Regions from separate parts of the Homo sapiens genome. Here region 2 is linked to region 1. Evidence: promoter capture Hi-C in 16 types of primary human blood cells and fetal thymus (Javierre and others, 2016). All regions are on one chromosome and are shown on one strand. Each heading gives the region's core, a stretch centred on a gene start or on the middle of the fragment in contact. The rest is flanking DNA. Distances are from core to core; before and after follow the strand shown. Region 1 holds the start of CENPC (centromere protein C). Region 2 holds the start of TMPRSS11E (transmembrane serine protease 11E).

Region 1 (3,789 bases), core at 588-3,087:
TATTACTCCCCCCATTAATTAGCAATCCTATTTTAGGATACTAAAACCATGGTGGGCTATTAAGTACTACAACAAGTACATATGGAAGTAAAACGTTTCTCTGGAAACTGTGGAGTCTCCACAACTGTTTTTATAAGAGTACTGCTCTATTTTCTTTAGAACAGTTAATCCTCAACGCCCTCTGTGGCCTGCTTTCTGCAGCAGCACAAGCCATTGCATTCCAAATTTCTCAAAATAAGTGTGGGACTTAGTTTCCAGTGGAAGCAGGAGGATATAATTTTACATGTGGGACTTTACATCTATAATCGTGCTTGCTAAAATTTCTTACCCAGAGGCAAAGAGTGTAGTGATTAAGAGCTCAGTTGTGGAGTGAGAATTCTTGGGATAATAACCCATCCTACCATTTAGTGGTGATGTGATCTTGGGTAAGACACTTAGCTCTCTGTGTTTCAGTGCCCTTGTTTATAAAACAGGAATATTAATTGTTCTCTTCAATGCATGCAAAGCATTTCAGAACTGGGCATAGAGTATGCAGTCAATAAATGTTAGTGTTTATCATTATCTATTCCAAATGTGACAGCACCAAATTATAAGTTGGACTGATTGGCAAAACTGCCAAACATAGTAAAAAACTCTCCATAATGATTCCAATAGCTTTATTATTGAATTCTTACTATGTTCCAAACATTGTGCTTAGATCTTAACAGGAATTATTCAATTACAACATCTCAACCACTTTAATAGTATTCTCATTTTGCAGACAAGAGAATTAAGGAACAGATAACTTAGTTGCCCATAATGGCAGAATTAATGGAATGGAGTGCAATCCAGGCCTAATTTCAGTCAGAGATCATAGTTCCTTTTTTTCTATCAAAAAAATAAATAAAATAAAAAAATTGGCCTTCATAGTTGACAGCATTTGTTAAAGCACTACATGTTTTAAAAATCTATTAGCTCAACTCCTGATTAATGTATTTATTCAATTAGTAAACTATTTTCTGATTAGAATTTTCTTGTAATTTTAAATTAAATAATAAAATAAGATACAGCTTCATAGAATCATACACTGGTCAGGTGAGAAGTCTTCAGAGCGTCTAATTTAGACTTCCATTCTATCACTATGGAAACACCCAGAATGGTGCCGCAATTTTGCCCTCCATAACATAGCTAGTCAATGGCTGGCAGGTTTCAGGATTCTGTATAGAATTCTTTTCAGTGCATCATACTTAAATGATAGATATTTACGTGGGTCATTTGTTGGCAATGCATCATAAAAATATCGCCCACATACTTGAAAAAGAATACAAGCCATCATCACCATTATTATACATAATTATTCAATTATTTTCAGAGATGATGGTTAGATGGGCTGGGCGTGGCTGACGAATCTGCATTAGAAAAATCTCTTCAAAAAAAGATTCTATTAAAAAAAAAGTCGTCTGCAATTTCTACCTCTCATCCTTCCAAGTATTACTTATTATTCCTTAATAGAACTGTTGAGAAGTTTTACATTGGGCACAAGGAGCGGTTCCCAGGATCGTGCCTTCCTAATAAAAGCCCAGTCTCGCGCCTGTCCCGGGCGCGGCGCTGAGGAAGGGAGGTGGGAAGAGCAGAGCGGCTAGAGGTAGGGCGGGCGGGTGGGTCTGCAGGCTGGAGGGCCGTTGGCCTGGAGCATGAAGGGGCGAGCCCACTAACGGCTTGCTTCCTATTGGACGGCGCGGCCCGTTTTGCGCATGTGTCTCCGGGTTCAAACCCAGGCACAGGCCAAGCGTTCTTGTTTGTTGAGGGCGGAGCCAATGGCGGGGGAGTGTTGTTAGCGCGCGCCTTCCGGATCGCAGCTCTCGCGGCAGTCGCCTGAGACTTAAGGTTATTGCTTGGCCGCGGCCTGGTATTCCGGCGATTCGTTTCTTGCTCGGCTTCCTGGAGCTGTGGTCCGTGTGGGCTTCCACCTCAGACAGTTGCGCTGGCTCAGCGGGGCCGGAACATGGCTGCGTCCGGTCTGGTAAGTGCAGGCCCCCCGCTCCAGGCGAGTGGTTGAGCGGCTGGCTGGGGCACGGGCGCCCGAGGCTGGGGAGAAGGAAATGCTAGGCTGAGGCTGTGATCTCTGAGGGATTTCAGTGGGAAAGCCGCAGGAATTTTTGAAATCAAGTGTGATCGTGTGTCGATAACCAGAGTTAATTTACTGTACTTTTATTATTTCTTAAGTTTTCATGTCGTCATTTCGTCTGTGCCTACGTCTTACTCTTGAGAGGTGCTTGTGATTTCTGCTGGGTTTTTTTTTGTTTTTGTTTTTGAGACGGGGTCTTGCTCTGTCCCCCAGGCTGGAGTGCAGTGGCGCGATCTTGGCTTCTGCTTTTTAGTCTAGCTCCAGTTCCTAGGCCTCCAAATAACTTTTCTCCCCATGGTAGAAGTATTGAAACGCCTTAAAAGTGTGTCTTTGCGTCACACTTGGTAGTTGGGAGAAACAGATTATGTAACAAGTACGTCTCGAAATAATTTGACGTTTTCAGTTCTTCTGTCAAAATGGTGGCCTTTTATGCAGTTCTTGAGGCTGATTTATGGAGCATATGTTATTGACAAACTCTTCTGAAAGACAGCTATCAGTTAAAAGGTACAAGCTGTGAATGACTAATGGGGGCGACAACTCATTTTGTTTACATATTTCTGGACTTCTTTGGTGTTCACTATTCTATATTTCATACTTTGGTTATGGTTACTATATAAAAATCCGTATCATTTCTTTTCTAATTTATCTCCCCTTCTAAGAAAATCTTCAGCTTCGATGATCTCCCATTATGTGACGTTATACATATAAACATAAAGAGTTGTATGAAAGAATAATATAATCTATACTTTTTACTATGAGCACATATATTGTTTACATTATATATAATCAGAAGAAAGCAATAAAGCCATTCTCACTGTGGGGAGAGAAGCGGAATAAAGCTTACCAGATGCCTGCAGTTCAGTTTTTAAATGCCTGTCATAACCTATGTTATGTCATAACATAACCTCAAAATTGTTTTGAGCCCTTAGGAGATGTTTGGTGTATAGCATGCCCATACTGGATGAAGTTACTTTGAAAATAAATTTTACTCGACTCTATCTTAAAGAAACCAAATTGATGATTTACTTTTCTTTCAGGATCATCTCAAAAATGGCTACAGAAGAAGATTTTGTCGACCTTCCAGGTGATTTACGTACTTAAGCTTTTAAGATTATTTTTATTCTCATCGTTAATAGATTTTTAAATGAAGAAAGGAAAAACTATCACCTCTGACTAATATAATGATTTCTGTGCCCACTGATTAAGGGTAGTCATCTTATACTAACGGGAATGTTAATGCAAGCAGTGCAATGACTTTGTGGCTGTGAAAAAAGAAATTCACCTGATAAAATAGTGGAACCAGGAAGAGGGAGTCTCAGTTCTGACTAAGTGACTGCCATGGGAAAAGCATTTTGTAGAATGAATCAAATGGTAAAATTAGAAAGATGTAGCTTATTCAGTGGGGCAAAAAGAAAAATAGTACATGCTGTCGTGCATTTGTTGAGTGCTTGTTTGGGTTGTTTTGGTTCTTCTTTTAGTTGTAAAACCTGTAAAAAGTAAATTTTCTAGTTAAATATTTACTAGTAATAGGATGAAAAGCATGTTTTTAAAAGTGAAGATGTTATTATGAATAACGTCATGTTTATTGAGCTGTGATTTTAGTAGGTCCAATGGGGCACAGAAGTATGTTCTTTTGTTTACAAGAAGCTTAGATTTCTGTTGGGAAAATGTATATGTACATT
Region 2 (3,789 bases), core at 705-3,204, 900 kb before region 1:
ATTTTCACTTCTTCTCAGTGGTTGCTGATAAATACAGTTAGTATACACCCCTATGACCAATAAATATATTTAATGGACACATTCTTCTCTTCCCAAATCTGTTCTCTATAAACTTATGCCTGATAGAGTTTTCTTTAACTTTCTGTTGTGTGTTTATAAAATTCATGTGTTGATCTCTTCATGCTCAAAGAATAGTCCAAAATAAGAGTTTGGAGAAAATGGCAGTACAAGAAGAATAATGCTTACCCAGTTTAAATTTTTTCCTACCCTTAAATTCTAAAAAAAAAAAAAAAAAACTGATTCTTATTCAGGTAGAGTCAGGGAGAAGGCTATCCGAAATCTGACTGAAAAGGAAGGAGCATGCTATTTAATAAAATTCCCCACCTGTTTCTTGTATTCTTTCTGAGTTAAAACCAATGACCTTAAGAAGAAATTGTCTACTTATATCCTAGGATTTCAATTATCCCTCTTCCTCGATAACACTCCTGTTGGCACATTTACGACAGCAAATGTGAATAATAAACTTAATCCTTTTTTGCTCTAGTACATGCTCTTAACATTTTATCTCATCTAGACCCACTCAAACATAGATGTGCTTCATCTTTCATACAATCTTCAGATCAGGAAGACGTTTTTGTTTGTTAGATGGTTGGTTTTGGTTTTTGGTTTTTTCCATGAGAGATTATTTGCATCTATTCTGCAGCAGGATTTTTAAAAATAGTCACATCTTTTGCTTCAAATTAGAGACTACACTCAGAAAAATTCACTCCAGTATTCCCACATTATACCGCCTCTACACATTTATAACCAAATTCCAAATCTCTGACATATACCATAGATAAGGCTTGTAATCTATTTAGTATGTTAAGTTTATTGGAAGCTTTCTTGAAGCACTGTTTTCTATAGTAAAGTCAATGAGAAAAAGAGAATAGGATACAAAACCATCATTGGTTGTAAAGAAATACTTGCAAAAGGCAGGGAGCCTTGATAAGCCCAACAAAATGTTTAGTATCCGTAGCTTTTAGTTGCTTCATGGATATGTACAGAAGAGTATTAAACTTCTAATAACAAGTATGTAGAACTTTCAACTGATGACAGAACCTGTTTTTCCATGTTAAATGAAGACCACAGATTTCATTCAAAGTTTAACATTTTCAAACTGTTCTCAAAGTAAAAACTAATAAAAAATGATATGCCAATATGAGAATCAGAGAAAATAAATTTTAATCAGGAGATAAAATTATTTTCAAAGACAAAACTAGTACCCCAAAACCTTGTTACTGATTAGTTTCTAACTTTGAAAGAAAACCTCAAAATGATCATGACTTATCTTTGGAGAAGTTGACTATGGCCAGGCATATCAGTGGATTTATTTTTTAAATCAGGCTATAATAATTTAGTCATATTATTTTCTTCAGTTGTTTCTGATTCTTTCAAAACATCTAGAGTTTTTAAATTTTTAACTACTTACAGAAATAAACATTTTTTTCTGCATTATTTCAGACTTTTTTTCATGTACACCTTCTAAAATAAAAGTGTTTCTCAATAAGACAAACAAAGCCCAAGCTAAAAATATGTTATATCTTTCTTGAAACATATGGCCAAACTAACTAAAAGACAGCTGTCAAACACCATGTACCTTTACATTGTGTAGAAACCTTCTAAAAGTAAACAGAAAAACACATGGGATACAACAAAAGAGGACAGGAAACACTAATACAGAAAGAATAGAAATCTTTTTCTTGACATAATTTTATGTAAAATCTCAAAAATATGTTTCTATATTTAAAAAAATAATAAACTGTAGATCTACACATTCCTTGGTGTGGCTCATACTGTTTTAAACTAAAAGTTACCTTAAGACTTCTAGAAAGAAAAAGGGAACTAACTCACCGATACATCATTGCCAACCAGCAATGAAGAGTCCTGTGAAGGTCGAGGTCTACATCCAAGTGTGTGAATCCAGCTCTATCAATGACTTTGTGGGCTGAATTGAAGTGAGGAAATAAGTCACTGATGATCTCAACAGAACCAGTCTGACAAGTCTTGGCTGGTGTAGTGGGGACTATATGTGACTAGCAGGACAAGGACAAATTTTACAGGGAGCAAGAGCAAAAAATAAATTTATAATTTATTGTTTTAAGATAATTTCTTTTAAGTATTAGTGTAAACCAGATTTTTTAGAAAAGTCAGACGTATAAATTTGGAAAGAAATTTTAAAACTATCTTGCTTGACCTTCTCTTGTTTACAGAGAAGAAACTGAGGTTTAATTAAGTTAAATGACTTGGTCAAAAACCAAATAGTTATTAAATTGCCAAGCCAGGACTGACATTCATATTTTTTAAACTAGCCTGACACAATTTGCATTCGATTATGTACATAATAAAAATTTCACTTTGGTTTTAACTATGTTAGCCATTGAAAATACACTAGAGATTAGAAAAGCATTAATATTTTTAAATTATGTGGCATCATTCTTCTAGAAAAATCAGTTAGTTTGCAAATGTCAACCCATACTTAAGACGTTATATTTCTTTCATTATAGTGGAGACAGGCATATCAACTCACGCTGAATCACTACTGTCTTATTTCTAGGGTGAAAATTACATTTTTTTAAACGTGTGCTCACATACTATGCAAATATCTGTGTGTTTGTGTTAGGTATAATCTCTAAATTGCTTTCCCTAATCCTTACAAAACAGAGTAGGTGTTTCTCCTCTGTGCTTTCATGGTATCATAATACTTACCTCATTATACTAGAAATTTTATTAATTGTATCTCAACTCCACAAGGTTGTGAATTCTTAACAGACTGAAACCCTCTTCCTAGCATATTCAGGCTCTCAAAAATATGCATAAAAAGAATGAGTAGAGGGCAGGTTGCAAGGAAAGGAGGAGAAAAAGAGGGGGTATAACCCATCCTAAAAAGCACCTTAAAAATATTGTTTAATTTCATTACATATCCATTTAGCCAACAGCTCACCTAAACAGATGCAGGAGTTGGAATTTATGTAATGTGTGGGATCAGACGGCCAAGAATTGGAATCATTCACTAGCAGTAACCCAAGAAACCTCTGTGCTGAGGCATACTGTGCTAGGGGCTACCAACATATATCCTTTTTATTCTGGTCACTAGGTCACTTATCCTGATGAATAGCATGGATATTTATTTACTTAAAGTCATTCAATATATAGTATTAGGTTTCTGTATACTCATTTAAAAATTACACTTTAGCCAAAAATAAAGAGGCAATAATAACAGTAAAAACTTCTGGGTTATGAGATTAAGCTGTTCTTATACAGCCTTTAACAAAGTGAAATCTCTGCCAATGAAATGTTAATATGGTTTAATAATACTATGTTCTATTTTATACTCACATTTTATGAAAATATTGATAATACTTTTGTTTTCAAAGGAAAACAGATTCCCTCTCAGTGTAACTTTGGGCCAAGACTTGCCAGACTTATTTTAACAAAATCTCAAGACATTTGTTTCTTTCACAAAATCAAGATTTCAAATTCAAATAAATTCTTTATATAGGCCTATGGACCTGTATACTTAGGGTAATATATAACCTAGAATTGTAGATACAGAAAATGAGAGGGCTATCATGAATTTTTTTAAAACTCTGTGAGTATAAGCTACAATTTGTAGAAAATTAAGAGATTACGCATATGTAAATAAAGGACAAGTGAATGTCAGACTAAAGATATTAAAAATATGTCTTCCTTGCTATATTAATGGCCTTTGTTCAGTCTGCTCAATGGGCATTGCAGTGTATATTATCA

Evidence for each region. The method cuts DNA at HindIII sites, captures the fragments that hold promoters and counts their contacts. A CHiCAGO score of 5 or more calls a contact.
Region 2: the fragment with the promoter of TMPRSS11E here is called in contact with the fragment with the promoter of CENPC in region 1 in 4 of 17 cell types (non-activated CD4 T cells, total CD4 T cells, total CD8 T cells and 1 more); the score reaches 7.7 in non-activated CD4 T cells.

Annotation. Positions count from the first base shown.
Region 1 is chr4:67,543,551-67,547,339 of GRCh38, reverse strand. CENPC (centromere protein C) reads left to right here and starts at 1,837. Exons shown (of 19, transcript NM_001812.4): 1 at 1,837-2,002; 2 at 3,145-3,191. The coding sequence starts at 1,985. RefSeq lists a silencer at 1,553-1,692 and enhancers at 1,515-2,065, 1,843-2,082. The HindIII fragment of the contact is 5,245 bases long and covers 1-2,948 here.
Region 2 is chr4:68,445,628-68,449,416 of GRCh38, reverse strand. TMPRSS11E (transmembrane serine protease 11E) reads right to left here and starts at 1,954. Exons shown (of 10, transcript NM_014058.4): 1 at 1,894-1,954. The coding sequence starts at 1,904. The HindIII fragment of the contact is 3,931 bases long and covers 883-3,789 here.